Regions from separate parts of the Homo sapiens genome. Here region 2 is linked to region 1. Evidence: promoter capture Hi-C in human tissues and cell types (Jung and others, 2019). All regions are on one chromosome and are shown on one strand. Each heading gives the region's core, a stretch centred on a gene start or on the middle of the fragment in contact. The rest is flanking DNA. Distances are from core to core; before and after follow the strand shown. Region 1 holds the start of TPM4 (tropomyosin 4). Region 2 overlaps HACL2 (2-hydroxyacyl-CoA lyase 2).

What was found. The method cuts DNA at HindIII sites, captures the fragments that hold promoters and counts their contacts. A contact is called where the count stands out against the background at its distance.
Region 2: a contact is called between a fragment that was not itself captured here and the fragment with the promoter of TPM4 in region 1, in 1 of the 25 tissues and cell types used here (aorta).

What each region holds. Positions count from the first base shown.
Region 1 is chr19:16,072,324-16,080,205 of GRCh38, reverse strand. It overlaps TPM4 (tropomyosin 4), which reads right to left and starts at 3,711. Exons shown (of 8, transcript NM_003290.3): 1 at 3,509-3,711. The coding sequence starts at 3,640. RefSeq lists enhancers at 822-1,051, 1,082-1,151, 2,640-3,369, 3,370-4,097, 4,098-4,827 and 2 more and a silencer at 3,152-4,061. The HindIII fragment of the contact is 17,695 bases long and covers 1-7,882 here.
Region 2 is chr19:15,116,407-15,124,288 of GRCh38, reverse strand. HACL2 (2-hydroxyacyl-CoA lyase 2) reads left to right here. Exons shown (of 16, transcript NM_006844.5): 3 at 713-914; 4 at 1,046-1,173; 5 at 1,259-1,397; 6 at 1,485-1,596; 7 at 4,208-4,307; 8 at 4,774-4,871; 9 at 4,987-5,123; 10 at 6,274-6,408; 11 at 7,767-7,881. It overlaps ILVBL-AS1 (ILVBL antisense RNA 1), which reads right to left and starts at 129. Exons shown (of 3, transcript NR_186314.1): 1 at 64-129. The HindIII fragment of the contact is 6,371 bases long and covers 295-6,665 here.

The sequences.
Region 1 (7,882 bases), core at 2,462-4,961:
TTCCTTGTCAGAACCTGTCCCCTAGGTCCTGCCAGGGCTACGAGGCAAGGCGAGTTTTCCAGCGATGCCTGCTCTTTGGAAGGAATATTGAGAACGGGTCAAACGGGCCTCAACCGAGAGGAAAAGGGAAGCCACGCTAGCTTTTTCCTATCAGAACAAATGAAGAATCCCTGAACTGGGGAAGGCTATCAAAATTATTAGGAAGGCCGGGCGCGGTGGCTCACATCCGTAATCCTAACACTTTGGGAGGCGGAGGTGGGTGGATCACATGAGGTCAGGAGTTCGAGACCAGCCTGGCCAACATGGTGAAACCGCATCTCTACTAAAAATACAAAAAAATCAGTTGGGTGTGGGGGCAGGCGCCTGTAATCCCAGCTACTTGGGAGGCTGAGGCAGGAGAATCGCTTGAACCCGGGAGGTGAAGGTTGCAATGAGCCGAGATCGCGCCACTGCACTCCAGCCTGGGTAACAGAGCAAGATTCCGTCTCAAAAAAAAAAAATTATTAGGAAACCACTCCCTCTCCTGCCCTGAGTTCATACTGGGGGAAAAAAAAATAGAATGAGGCTAACGTGGCCGAAAAACTACACAAATAGAGTCAGGAAGGTTTCTCAGCCTCAGATTCCTAGAAGCAGAAAGAGGGCACTCCCACAGGTGTTTCGTATTGCAGTGTCCTCTGAAACACCAAATGCAGAGAATTGTGAAAACCACTGATGAAACTGTCTTAAGAAACGTCACTGAGGCCTTCCCATGAATGGGTGCCTTTCATTCTTTTTAATTGCCTAGATCTTAACTCCTCCTACCACCTTCAGTAACTGGGCCAGGAACTGATGTTGCAAAAACACTCTGCAACCAACACCATTATCGAATTCCAGGACATTTTCATAACCCGCCAAAGACAAACAAACAAACAAAAAACTGTGTACCCATTAGCAGTCGAGGAATTGATTTTAAAGATCAAACAGAGGTGCTTGATTCATGAGTTGTCTTTTAAGAAGTGAGTAGCCCTTATGTGGGAAATTCTGAATCCTGGCAAACAACGCTTTTGGCAGATTTTCAGCTGTCTGGAGTTGGGAGATACACGCATATCTGTACATGCATACATATATATGTATTTTTGAAAAACTGCTAGTCACGGCCGAGTCATTTTGGGTTCCACCCCTTCCTGCAATCAAAGCCTTCCACACGCTACAAAGGATTTCCCTTATAAGGTAAAAGAGGCTTGCTAGATACATGTGGCAAAGGAACAGGAAGATGTCAGTTAATCACACAAAAATCTAAACGAAACCAGCTGTCGGGAAACAGGCCCAGAAGTCTACCACACGCCGGCTCCTGGCTTATTCTACAAGAGTGAAAGGTTTTTTTTTTTTTTTTTTTAACCCACCCCTGGTCTTAGTTCCTTTTGCCCTGGGAGAGGTTTTCCCTCTCCCAGACGGAAAGAAGCATCCTTTGCTTTTTCAAGAACTTTTCGAACTTTTTCAAGAAGTCTTCAACTCTCCAAAAACATCTTCTCTCCCAACTAGACGGTCTTGCTCCTAAATCTTGGCTCCAGGCTGAGGGCCATTTTGAAGCCGAGTTAATTGTCCTCCAGCGAGATGACTTGGGATGAGATCAGAGCAAGAGCTGTGTCGGTTAAGTGTGAGAAAGAGGCCAGACCGGCTACCGATTGAGGCTTACACCGGGTTTCTAAGGCCTCTTGGGCCAAAGCAGCCCTTACAGGATTAGAGGCTTCAACCAAGGCCCATGCTGCAGCCCCCATCTGGGCTCTTTCCAGTCCTGGCAATTCACACCACCAATTCCATCTGGCTGGGCATCTTTTGCCTCTCTAGGGTCCCCACCCTGAGCCTCAACACTGAACTTTCAGGGCTTTTGGGCTTCAACCTCTATCCGCACACCCCCCCACCCTCATCATACAACTTTCTTGCCTCTGAGTCTGTGCACACCCATGTCTCTGGTCCCAGCAAACTTATTTATTCTATAAGACCCAGCTCAACCTCCATTTTGGAGCCTCCCCTGTCATGCTCCCATAACTGCACAGAAAACCCGTGGAATGCAGACCTCGCTCCATCAGTGAGTCAGCTCCCCTGCCTCCATTTGTCTATGAGCTCTTCCCAGGGCAGAGAAAACACAATTGAGGCTGGGCGCCGTGGCTCACGCTTGTAATCCCAGAACTTTGGGAGGCCAAGGTGGGCAGATCACGAGGTCAGGAGTTCGAGACCAGCCTGGCCAGCATGGTGAGACACTGTCTCTACTAAAAATCCAAAATAAAAAAAAAAAAATTAGCTGGGCGTGGTGGCGGGCACCTGTAATCCCAGCTACTCGGGAGGCTGAAGCAGGAGAATCTCTTGAACTCGGGGGGTGGAGGTTGCAGCGAGCCGAGATCGCACCACTGCACTCCAGCCTGGGCGACAGAGTGAGACTGCCTCAAAAACAAAACAACAAAAAACAACAACACAATTGATTATTTACAAAGCGCCAGGCTCCACGCCTGAGATTTACTCCTGGGACCCTCCCTGCTACTCTGGGGGGTCGGGATTCTTATCAGTCCTACTCGCAGATGGGAAAAAAGCTCCTAGAGAGCAAATACCAAGTCATGAAGCCTGTGGGTGGCATGATATGGGACCAGAATCCAAATCTGTCCCCAGACCCTGGCGGTGCCACCATCTGTCCCGAGGGACAGCCAGGAGGATGATGCAGAGAGGATGGTGAAACTCCCTCCTTTTTCAGACCCATTGTTTATCTCGGGCCCTGCGACTCGCGGCGGAGGCGCACAGCAGGCGCTCAAACGATCGTGGGTTCAGGGCCCCGCGCCAGCGTTCCCGGGGCCTTCTGGAGAGAGGCAGGGTCCCGCCGCCCCGGTTCCCGCAGGAATCAGCTGGAGAAAGGCGGGCGGCTTGGGGCTGAACTTCCTCCACCCCCCATCCCCCCCGCCGCCTGGAGCAGACACGTCGCCGCCGCGCCCCTGGGAACGGTCAGGGAAGCAAGCAGAAGCCGGGAAGCCGCGAAAGAGGCGAGAAAGTGCGACCCCCTCCCCAGATCCCCGGTCCCCCGTCGAAATCCCTGTCGGCCGGTCAAACCCTAGACAATGGAAGCTCCACGTTTTCATCCTCATTCTCCCCCACAAGTCCGGTCGCGGGTTCCCCTCGGCCCGGGACCCCGGCGCCAGCCCCGGAGTCGGAGCCTGCACGATACGCCCCCTCCCGCCGCTCCACTTCTCCACCCGGAGATCGCTCACCCCCTCCGCCCCATCCCCCCATTTCCCGCTTGGCCGGCCCCGCCCGACCCGGAGGCGGCGCCCCCTCCCCTGTCCCAGGCCCAGGAAGGAGGACGGCGGAGGAAGTAGGGGGTCCTGGCTGCGGGCGCAGGGATGTGGGTCGGCGATCGGCGTCCGAGGGCGTAAAAAGGCGGCCCGAGGACTGCGCGCGGGCGGGCAGCGCGGGAAGCCGGGAAGAAAGGAGGGCGCGCGGGGGAGGAGGCTGCGGGTGCGGGGCCCGAGGCCGGGGCGCTCACTTTCTCGCGCCGCTCGCGCTCGCCGTCCAGCTCCCGCTGCAGGCCCTGCGCGCGGTCTTCCGCCTCGTCCGCCTGCTGCTGCAGGGCCTGGATCTTGCGTTTCACCGCCTCCAGGGAGTTGAGGCCGGCCATGGCGCGGAGGCGCAGAGGCGCACGGGCAGCGGCGGACGCTCGGCTGGGCTCGGCTCCGGCGAGAGCTGCACAGCCGCGCCCCGGCCCCCCAAGCCTTTGCCTGCGCGGGGGCCGCCCCCGCCTCTCCCCGCCCCCCGGGCCGGCTGCCGTCGGGGCGATGAGGTCACCCGGCCGGACCGCCGACGTCAGCACCGCTGGGGGAGGGCCTGACGTCGGCACCGCTGGCCACAGCTGCTGGAAAGTGCCCCTTTTCGGGACTTATTTGGAGAAAGCGCTGGGAGGCGCCGCCTTCTCCTCCTCCTCTTCCTCCTCCCCCTGCGGCTCTCCCCGCCTTCCCGGCCCCGGGGCTCCGGCCTGGCCCCGCCGCGGGCTCCCGCATCCCTGCACACGTACGTCGGAGGCCTTCTTCTCCGTGAGCTCCAGCTTCTCCTGCGCGTCCTTCAGGTCCTCGGAATATTTATCCAGCTCGTCCTCTGTCCCTTTTAGTTTCTTCTGGAGGTGCGTCAGCTCCTCCTCCACCTGGGGACGACAGAGCGAGGAACGGGTCAGCCTGGGGGGGGGGTCACGTCCCCGAGGTGCAGGGGCGGTCCCCCCCAATATTCACAAGAGTCCTCCGTCTCTCTCTGGGCATCAGTTTCCTTATCTGTAGAACAGGGGTTGCGATAGCATGCACCACGCCATCCATGCTACCTGATAGTGGGATTTTCACATCTTTCCCTCGTCCTGAGGACCAGCTGTTTTGGGCTTATTGGGGTCCCCAGTACTCTAGGGAGATCAATGGCAGCTTTTGGGAAACTGAAGACTCCAAATGTTTTCCAGAAATACACACATTCCAGTTTCAGAGGTGCAGCCTCACCATGATCTGGAGTTAAGCAATCTCATTCTCTGCGCGTGGATCCCTCCGCCCATCCCTGTCCCCAGCCTTTCTCCCTCTGGTTCTGACCCCAACACGGGGTCAGAGAAACTTTCTAACAAATACGCCTGCCCTCTTTCTGCCTAGAACCTGCTATGGCTCCCTATGGCCCAAGGCAGTGGTTCTTAGACTGTCTTACCAAAATACTCTGAAGGGCTGAAGGGCTCAGACCTAGTCCCTCATTTCTGGGCTTTGGGGAGCTTGGCTAGAAGAGACTCGCCCCTACAGGATCACTTTCTTTGAAGGCTCGGGTTAAATCTTTAAAATTTTTGCATATAGGCCATGTTCATTTTAATAAAAATGTCCCCTACTTTCCCTAAATTTTCAGTCCTCTGTTTATCCCAAGAGTCCTATCCTCCCATCACTCCTAGTTTGAGAAGCTCAGGCCTATGGATTACAAACCACAGACCCCATCACCTCTCTTTGTCACCCCCCACCACACCGGTCTAGAGTTGGCTCAAGAAGACTTTTCTGTCACCTCCAGGCTGAAACTCCCTCCCTGGGCCCCCAACTCTGGATTAGGGTGATCATATCCAGCTCATGCCTGGATCTGACTTTTTTTTTTGAGAGTCTCGCTCTGTCACCAAGGCTGGAGTGCAGTGGCACGATCTCAGCTCACTGCAACCTCCGCCTCCTGGGTTCAAGTGATTCTCCTGCCTCAACCTCCCCGGTAGCTGGTACTACAGGTGCACACCACCACGACTGACTAATTTTTGTATTTTCAGTAGAGACAGGGTTTTGCAATATTGGCCAGGCAGGTCTCAAACTCCTGACCTCAAGTGATCTGCCCGCCTCGGCCTCCCAAATTGCTGGGATTGCAGGCGTGAGTCGCCACACCTGGCTTGGATCTGACTTTTGCCTTAGATGGTTTGACACTGATCTTGTTCCTGCTCCCAGGGTGGGCAGACAGCCCCCACTGAGCCCAGCTTCATTCTCCTGCTTCCTCCCCACAGCAGGAGGCTCAGAGAGGTGGGATGACTTTCCCCAGGTCACACAGCACAGGGTTTGAGCCCAGGTCTTCTGGAATATAAGCCTATAATGAACTGAATGCTTGCTTTTGCCCCCTCTCCAATTCATGTGTTGAAGCCCTCATCTCCATGTGATGGTAATTGGTGATGGGGCCTTTGGAAGATGATGAGGTTTGGGTGAGGTCATGAGGGTTGACCCACCATGATGGGATTAAGGCCCTTATGAGAAGAGGCCAGAACTTGGTTATCCTCTTCCAATGTGAGGACACAGCAAGAAGGTGGCTGTCTGCAAGCTAGCTAGAGAGCGCTCACCAGACATTTAATCTGCCAGCATCTTGATCTTGGACATCTAGCCTCCAGACTGTAAACAATAAATGTCTATTACTGAAGCTACCCAGTCTATGGTGTTTTGTTATAACTGCCTGAGCTGACAAAGACAAAGCCCTTGGCCCTGTTCCTCACACTAGGCCAGCTTCCCTTCCTCCCTCTCTGACTTGCTTCTCTTCTTTTTTTTCTTGAAGAGGGTATGTTAAAAAAGCTGCTGTGCCCGTGGCTTCTAGACTGAGCTCTGAATCCTGTCTGGGCTACGTGCTCACCCCTGAGTGGATGTGCAAAATGTACCAGGTGCCCCATATGTGTGTGTGTGTGTATGTTTTTTTTTTGCCTTTTTTTTTTTTAACCTGATCTTGCTGTGTGTGTGTGTGCATTATTTTTTTTTTTTGCGTTTTTTTTTTTTTTTTTTTTTTACATGGTCTTCCTGTGTCTCCCAGGCTGGAGTGCAGTGGTGTGATCATAGCTTACTGCAGCCTTGACCTCCTCGGCTCAAGCGATCCTCCCGCCTCAGCCTCCTGAGTAGCTGGAAAGTGTGAACTCCAGGCTTCCCATCTTGCGGCCTGCTGGGTGTCAGCTGGAGGATGGGGTGGAGGCTGGCAGCTGGAGGTTCAGCTGATGTCACTGAGGTGACCTGCAAGGGTCTCTAGCTGAGATGTGACAGAGAGCAGGGAGGGCTATCCTGTCTGAAGTCCTCAGGAGCATCCCAAGCTATGGGGAGATGACAGGGCCCAATCCAGGGTGGCCAGCTGATCAGGGCAGGGTCAGAGTCTATAGGGCCTGACCTTGACCTCCGGGTGGGGAGCCTGGAAGCCTGACTCCAAATCCAAGCTCTGCGACCCCCGTCCCCTTTTCTGGCCTCAGATTCTCCATCTGCAGAACAGAAACCTTGACATGCTGGTCTCTGAGCATTCCGGCAGCTGCTTTTGAACTTCTGCCTTGACTGAGAAAATGAGCCAGTTTCCTTAAAGACGTTTCATAGGTCAACCCTGACCTACAGCATCCACCTGACTTCCTTCCAGATCTGTGGATCACAGCATTTATTGGGTGCCAACTGTGTGCCCAACACAGGACTCTCCTAACATGTAGGAAGAGTGAGAGCAAATCTGACAGCATGGACTCATCAGGGTATGAAGATGGTTTGGGTGTTTTGTTTTGTTTTTGTTTTTGTTTTTTTGAGATAGGATCTCGCTGTGTTATCCAGGCTGGTCTCGAACTCCTGGGCTCAAGGGATCCTCCCACTTCAGCCTCCCGAGTAGCTGGGACAACAGGCATGAGCCACCCCACCTGGCTGGTTTGGGGTTTTTTTGTTTGGTTTGGGGTTTTGACTACTTTTTTGGGGGAAATGTTTGGGCAAGAACATGTGAGGACAGGGATAAGGCCGACAGGGGGCTATCTGGCATTTAGAATGTGTTGGGCGTGTTACAATTTGTTTTGATATATTTTTTGAGACAGAGTCTTGCTCTGTTGCCTAGGCTGGAGTGTAGTGGCTGGATCTCAGCTCACTGCAACTTCCACCTCCCTGGCTCAAGTGCTTCTCCTGCCTCAACCTCCCTAGTAGCTGGGATTACAGGCTCATGCCACCAAGCCCAGTTAATTTTTGTATTTTTTGTAGAGACAGGGTTTTGCCAGGCTGGTCTCGAACTCCTGACCTCAGGTGATCCCCCACCTCAGCCTCCTGAAGTGCTGGGATTACAGGTGTGAGCCACTATGCCTGGCCAGGGCGTGTTACAAATATTGTCTCAGGGAAGCCCCATACTACAGAAGGGCAAACTGAGTCTCTGAAAGGGGAAGGGACTTGCCTGATGCCACACAGATGGGGGATTTGAATCTTTGTTAGTCTGATTCCAAAGCTGGTTTGCTTGACTTCTAGACCATGCTGGACCCACTGCTAAGAATGACTTTCTACTTTTCACTGGGAGGGCATCTACCGTCCCTCCATGCTCAGTCCCAAGGCTCCCCAACCCTGGTGGCCTGCTCTGCTGCCCTGAGCAGAGCTTTCGCCACGCCTACAGCTGTCCCAGCCTCTGT
Region 2 (7,882 bases), core at 2,231-4,730, 960 kb after region 1:
ACCTCTCCCTCCCCAAACCCTTCTCTACTGCTTCCTCTGCTAGCCAGGAGTGATGCCACTGACCTTCAGGACTTAGGAGATTTAAAGCAAGCCTTGGATGTGTAGGGCTGTGAGGCAGCTGGAGTTGGGAGGCCTCGGCACAGTCTGTGCCAGCAGCTCACTCCCGTGCCAGGCACATGGTGGCTGGCAGCCTGTCAACTAAGCCCTGGGCCTGTTTAGCGTCCATCAGGAGGGCATCAGGGAGGCTGGGATCAGGAGCCCAGCTGCCAGGCTCTGCAAGGATACTGGAGGGCAGGGAGGAGTCACAGCAGATGGCTCCCTGCCATCTGCTCTGCGTGCGTTGTGCCCCTGGCCAAACCCCCTGGGTTATATAACCCTCTCCTCTCTCCCTGATTGCCCTGCCATCCTGGAGACAGGCAGTGTAACAGTGGGGCACTTAAGAGCGTGGGTTCTATTGAACTTTCAGTCTTACTTGGGCAAGCCTTGATGTCCTCAGCTGTAAGAGGGATGTAATGACAAGAGGATCTGATAAGATGTTATGCCTTGGTTTGAGCCTGGCATGTAGTATAATATATGCCTAACCAAGACCAAGCTTCTCTTGACCTCTCACCCTGCTCCTGCCCCCTTACCTGGGGCAGGGGGATTGCCCCCTTTCCCAGCTGCCCTCTGCCCTGGCCTTTAACTTTATTGCTCCACCTGTCCTTGGGCCCAGGTGGACAAGGCAAGCGTCCGGCATGGCGGAGAGAACGTGGCCGCTGTGCTGAGGGCCCATGGTGTGCGGTTCATCTTCACGCTGGTCGGTGGGCACATTTCCCCGCTGCTGGTGGCCTGTGAGAAACTGGGCATCCGTGTGGTGGACACACGCCATGAGGTCACGGCCGTCTTTGCTGCTGATGCTATGGCCCGCCTGTCCGGTGAGGGCATTGCAGAGAGGGCTGGGGACTGGTTGGACTGTGGGCTAGAGTGTCTGTGAGGGTAGGGGTTTTTCAGAGGTGGAAGAATGGCCAAGAGAGTGGGCATGGCTGTGATGGGCTCTGTGTTCCAGGGACGGTGGGCGTGGCGGCAGTGACAGCAGGCCCTGGCCTCACCAACACGGTGACTGCGGTGAAGAATGCTCAGATGGCTCAGTCCCCAATCCTGCTTCTGGGTGGGGCTGCCAGCACTCTGCTGCAGGTACCCAGTCCTTGGGGGCCAGTGGGGGCCTAGGGGGGCTTGAAGGGCTCATGCGATAACCCTGCCACACCTCTGTCTTTGCCAGAACCGGGGTGCGCTCCAGGCTGTTGATCAGCTGTCCCTTTTCCGGCCACTCTGTAAGTTTTGTGTGTCTGTGCGGAGGGTGCGGGACATTGTGCCCACCCTGAGGGCCGCGATGGCTGCCGCCCAGTCGGGCACCCCAGGTAGGTGGAGGATGGTGATGCTGAGCAGTGCTGGGGCCGAGGGGCTGGGGACATGTTATGGACTCAGCGTCCTCCCTGTCCCTGCAGGTCCGGTGTTTGTGGAGCTGCCCGTTGACGTGCTGTACCCCTACTTCATGGTCCAGAAGGAGATGGTGCCAGCCAAGCCACCCAAGGGCCTCGTGGGCCGAGTGGTCTCCTGGTGAATAGCCCCACCCCTGCCATTCCCTCCTTTATCCCCCGTTCTCTCCTGCAGCTTCCAGCCCACACCCATCCTCCTTTGATTCACATGTGGACTGGGAGGAGACAGCTGGGGGGAGAGCATTCCAGGTAGAAGGAACAGCATGTGCAAAGGTCCTGAGGCAGGAATGAACTGGGTGGGTAGGGAAAGCAAGGCGGCCCTCGTGGAGGCAGCAAAGGGGAGAGGCTCAGGACAGCCCTCCTCCTCCTCCTTTTCCCTTTCTTCTCCTCCTCCATCATCTCTTCTTCCTCCTCTTCCTCCTCCCTCTTCCTTCCTCTTCTCCTCCCTTTCCCCCACCACCTTTCCCATCGTCCTCTCCGTTTTCCTCCTCCTAAAGGATGATCCTTGAACCTCGGAAGGGAGGTTCATTCTTACATTTACAGAGGAGGAAGCTCAGAAAGGTGAAGTCACTTGCCCAAAGTCACACAGCTAAGAAGTGGCAGAGCCCAGGCCGGGTGCGGTGGCTCTCACTTGTAATCCCAGCACATTGGGAGGCCGAGGTGGGCAGATCACGAGGTCAGGAGATCGAGACCATCCTGGCTAACATGGTGAAACCCCATCTCTACTAAAAATACAAAAAAAAAAAAAATTAGCCGGGCGTGGTGGCGGGCGCCTGTAGTCCCAGCTACTTGGGAGGCTGCGGCAGGAGAATGGCGTGAACCCAGGAGGTGGAGCTTGCAGTGAGCCAAGATCGTGCTACTGCACTCCAGCCTGGGTGACAGAGCAAGACTCCGTCTCAAAAAAAAAAAAAAAAGTGGCAGAGCCCAGACTCGAGCCCTCTCCTTCCTCCTCCTTTCCTTCCCTCACATCTTTGTCCTTTTCTTTCTTTTTTTTTTTTTTTGAAACAGATTCTTCGTTCTGTTGCCTAGGCTTGAGTGCAGTGGCGTGATCTCGGCTCACTGCAACCTCCGCCTCCCCCTGGGTTCAAGTGATTTTCCTGCCTCAGCCTTCTGAGTAGCTGGGACTACAGGCGCCCGCCACCACACCTGGCTAATACTTGTATTTTTAGTAGAGACGAGGTTTCATCATGTTGGCCAGGCTGGTCTTGAACTCTTAACCTCAAGTGATCCACCCTCCTCGGCCTCTCAAACATTACAGACATGAGCCACTGCGCCTGGCCTCTTCTCTTCTTCTTCTTCCTTTCCTTTCTTCTCCTCCTCCTCTTCCTCTTCTTCCTCCTTCTCTCCCTTCCCCTCAGTCCCTTCCCTTTGCCTGTCCTTGGCCCTTCCTTTCCATACATTTAGCGAGCGGCAGCCATGTGCCAGGTTCCAGGACAGGCACGGGGCATCATCAGTGGACAAGGTAGTCAGGCTCCTGTACTCCGGATGTGTGTGAAGCGCCTGAGGGTCAGCTCAGGCAGTAGTGATTTTGTTCTATGGCCTCTTTATTTTTTTTGAGACGGAGTCTCGCTTTGTCCCCCAGGTTGGAGCGCAGTAGTGCGATCTTGGCTCACTGCAACCTCCACCTCCCGGGTTCAAGTGATTCTCCTGCCTCAGCCCCCGGAGTAGCTGGGAATACAGGTGCAGTCCACCATACCCAGCTAATTTTTGTATTTTTAGTAGAGATGAGGTTTCACCATTTTGGTCATATAGCCTCATTCTTAATGCACTTTGCCCCCTGGCTTCCCAGTCAGTCCCTCCCCTTGTTCTCCTTGCCCCTCTCTCTTGGGCTGCCTCTCACAAGGCTATCTCTTATCTTGCCTTTTTTGTTTTGTTTTGTTTTGAGACAGGGCCTCACTCTATCACCCAGGCTGGAGTGCAGTGGTATGATCATAGCTCACCACAGCCTTGAACTCCTGGCCTCGAGCAATCCTCCTGCCTCAGCCTCCCTTGCCTTTTCTTTACTTGCGGGGCTTCCCACGGTTCCATCCTGGGCTGCTTCTGTGCTGTCTTGGCCTGTCCTTAACGGTGAAAGCAGAGGCTTCTGACTCTGAGCTCCGACTGTTTCCTGCCAATGCCCATGTGTCTGTCTTTCGCTGGATAGAGCGCCCCCTGAGGGGAGGGCTGGGCAGGATCTATCTTTGTGTCTCCAGGGCCCTGCACAGGTCCTTCAGGAAAGTTGGGGCCCTGGGGCCCAGTGAGCAAGGAGACCGAGAAGACCCTGTTTGAAGCAGGAGAGGACAGTGTTCAGAACTCCCATGCAAAGCGCCTCATGTCCTAAGTGGACAGATCCTTGAACCTGGGGAGGGAGGTTCATATTTACATTGACAGAGGTGGAAGCTCAGAAGGGTGAAGTCACTTGCCCTAAGTTGCACAGCTAGGAAGTGACAGAGCCAGGACTTGAGCTCACATCTGTTGGACCCACAGGCTTAATCCTGGCATGCTGAGCCTGCGTTCCTTGCTTCTGGGGGGCTACGTGGAGTTGGGGTGGACCCCAGAGGCTACCGAGGGCAAACAGGCAGTTGAAGACCTGGCCACTAGGGTTCGTCTGTCCCTGAGGTGTCACTCATCCACCCTGTCCCCATGCCACTTTGCTCCTGGCTTTTCTCCCGGCCCCTTTCCTTGCTCAGATCCTGGAATCCTTGTAGTTAGTTAATTCTGGCAACTTGGTTTCTTCCCCCTCCCTTTTGCAGGTATTTAGAGAATTACCTGGCCAACCTCTTTGCAGGAGCCTGGGAGCCTCAGCCCGAGGGACCGCTGCCCCTGGACATCCCCCAGGCTTCCCCGCAGCAGGTGAATTGCCTCTCTTTTGTGTCTGAGGACCCTACCCTCTCCCTGAGGGGAGAGGGCCCCCTGACCCTCTCCCTGAGTCAGTACTGGGGCCTTAATCTTGGGTGCTCATGGCGACTCAAGGGCGGCCCTTTGGCTGGACGCGGTGGCTCACAGCAGCAATCCCAACACTTAGGGAGGCCGAGGCAGGCGGATCACTTGAGGCCAGGAGTTCAAGACTAGCCTGGCCAACATGGTGAAACCCTGTCTCTACTGAAAATACAAAAGTTAGCCAGGCATGGTGGCACGCGCCTGTAATCCCAGCTACTCTGGAGGCTGAGGCGGGAGAATCGTTTGAACCTGGGAGGTGGAGGCTGCAGTGAGCTGAGATCATGCCATTACACTCTATCCTGGGCAACAGAGTGAAACTGTGTCTCAAAAAAATAAATAAATAAAAAGACAGCCCTTTGATCCCCACCTCTCGCTCCAGGTTCAGCGCTGTGTGGAGATCCTGAGCCGGGCCAAGAGGCCTCTGATGGTGCTGGGGAGTCAGGCCCTGCTCACCCCAACGTCTGCCGACAAGCTTCGGTGAGAAGCGCCAGCCCTGCCCTTGTTTTCACGTTCCCAGTCCCCAGTCCTCGGGTGCTCTTGGGGAGGCGGGAGGCCCCGGCCACACTGACCTCTGCTCTGCCTGGACTCCCAGGGCTGCCGTGGAGACCTTGGGTGTTCCCTGCTTCCTTGGAGGGATGGCACGGGGGCTGTTAGGCCGCAACCACCCCCTCCACATCCGGGAGAACCGCAGTGCGGCCCTGAAGAAGGCGGATGTCATTGTCCTAGCAGGTGGGCCTGAGCCTCTTCCTTTCCCTCCTTCCCCCAGGAACCCCCTCACCCTGTTACCCAGCTTCACACGAAGGAGGAGGAAGGTCTAGTGGGCACCTATTGTACTTGATACACATTTTCACATAAAGCGCTTTGAACCCAACCAGACGCATAATAGGTGTATCAGATAGCTACTGCCCTGTAACAACCATCCCCAAACTCAATGGCTAAAAATGCATTTCTGATTTCTCAAGATCCACCTATAAGGTAGGTGGTAGCTGTGGTTTTGGCTGGGCTCATTCATGAGTCTGCACTTGGGTTAGGCAGGAAGGCAGCTGTGCTGATCCAGGCTGGGCTTGCTCACCTGTATGGGGATTGGCTGGCCCTGCAGCTCGTCTGGGATGGCCTCAGCTGGGGTCATAGAGTTCTTCACCCCTGTCTCCATGGCCCCCTTGTTTCTCATCCTCCAGTAGGCTAGCCTGGGCTGGCCGACTTGGTGAAGGATGAGAAAACTATGGGGCTAGGAGAGTGCGGTTATTCAAGAGAGTGAGTGGAGGCTGTGTGGCTTCTTGAAGTAGAGTCTGCAGGAATGGGGGGTGGGGGTCCTGAATCATCTGGAGGTGTCTTCACTCAGAGGTCTTGCAATTGACGCCAGCTGTTGGAGGGGCTGTGGACTAGGGCAACTACACAGGTCTCTATGTGTGGCTCCGGTTTCCTCCCAGCATGATGGCCTCAGGGTAGTCAGACTTCTTAGACAGAGAGCACATTCCTTGGCCCCACCCAGGCCTCTAAAAGTGAACAAGGAAGAAACTGCATATCTTCCTTGTTGGGTGTCATGGTGTGTCACTTTCAAGGAAAGGGGACCTAGGCTGCACCTCTCTCCATGGGAGGCATGTCAAGGTGACCTTGTACAAATGGATGTAGGGTGGGAGATATTATGGCCATCTGGGAAAATATAACCTGCCTCTGCCCTATCCTGTTGGCCAAAGCATGTCATGAGGCCAGTCCCGATTCAGGGGGTGTGGGGAGCTGCAAGGTCACTGTAGGTGGCACAGGTGCAGGGAGACTCGGTGAGGAACAGGGACTCATTTGCATCCAGTCCACCACAGTGGATCAAGTAAGGTAGACGACATGGGGCCTCTGCCTACTGCATTCCTGTCCCCCACACCAGGAACTGTGTGTGACTTCCGCCTATCCTATGGCCGTGTCCTCAGCCACAGCAGCAAGATCATCATCGTCAATCGTAATCGGGAAGAGATGTTGCTCAACTCAGACATCTTCTGGAAGCCCCAGGAGGCTGTGCAGGGTGAGCCCCTTAATCCCCCCGTACACATATGTGCTCCTCCCAGTCCCTCTCCTCCTGGTTTCTGCTGCAGCTGGCTTGAGCCTGGTACAGTGATTGAGGCCCAGACCTTGCCCTAGGGGTAGCCAGTCAACCAGAGACAAATAGTTGGCTCTCAAACTGATGAATGCTTCTTTCTTTAAATTTTTTTTATTTTTATTTTTTAGAGACGAGGTCTCGCTCTGTCACCCAGGCTGGAATGCAGTAGTGCAATCACAGCTCACTGCACCCTCAAACTCCCAGGCTCAAAAGCAATCCTCCCACCTCAGCCTCCTGAGTAGCTGGGACTACAAGTATGCACCACCATGCCAGGCTAATTTGTTAATTTTTTTTTGTGGAATCAGCATCTCACTGTGTTGCCCAGGTTGGCGTGGAACTCCTGGCCTCAAGTGATCCTCCTGCCTCGGCCTCTCAAAAGTGCTGGGATTACAGACCAGAGCTACTGCGCCCGGCCTGATAGATGCTTCTGTAGGAACAAATGGTGGGGTGGACACAGAGGGAGGCTTGAAAACGTGCATGTGATCACGTTCCCTCCCACACTGCCCACTGCCCTCAGGACAGAGAGCACACTCGTTGGCCCCTTAGCCTGTCTTCCTGCCGTATCTCTCCCCTCCCCTTATTTTAGTCCCCTTGGACTTGAACTTGGTTCATCATTCTGAGGATGTTGACTCCCCTGCAGCCTAGGCGACAGGACACTCTTGTATTAAGCAGAGAAGTAGCACCGTTGCATCTGTGTTGGGAAGGTCCACTCAGCAGCCATGGACGGCAGGCCGGAAGGGGGCTGGGTGGAGGCCAGGGGGGCTGCTCAAAATGGCCAGGACAGAAGCGAGGAGGCCTGAACTGGAGATGAACAGCGGCAGAGCCTCACCTTCTCAGAGCCTCCATTTGATCATTTGAAAAATGGGGTGGTGAAAGATACATCACGGGGCTGTTTGTTAGTTCACTTCAGTAACGTTCGCTGTGCGCTTCCACGTGCCTGGATTTGAGAGATGTGCTTGGTGGATGTAGCTCTTTTCATTGAGTGTTTCCCAGGCAGAAGGAGGTGGAGGGAGGGGACGAGGCCAGCTTGGGTTTGTCACCTGCCTTGTGCTCCTTAACCCTTGTTTCTTGGGCCTTGTCTTCCCTTTTCACCTGGGCTGCCCTCCCCTGGTTCTGGCAGGTTCTGGGGTGTTTCACCTGTTTTTTTTCTAGGAGCACCCCTGGCCTGCTTCCCGTCTGCCTGCTCGGATGCTGCTGCTGGCTTCCTGCTGTTTTGAGGCCTCTGATGCTGGAAGAACAGGAGGAAGCCAGCTCCCCACAGCTGTGTCCTCTTCCTTCCCCAGGAGATGTGGGTTCCTTCGTGCTGAAGTTAGTGGAGGGCCTTCAGGGCCAGACCTGGGCCCCAGACTGGGTGGAGGAGCTGCGGGAAGCCGACCGGCAGAAGGAGCAGACCTTTCGG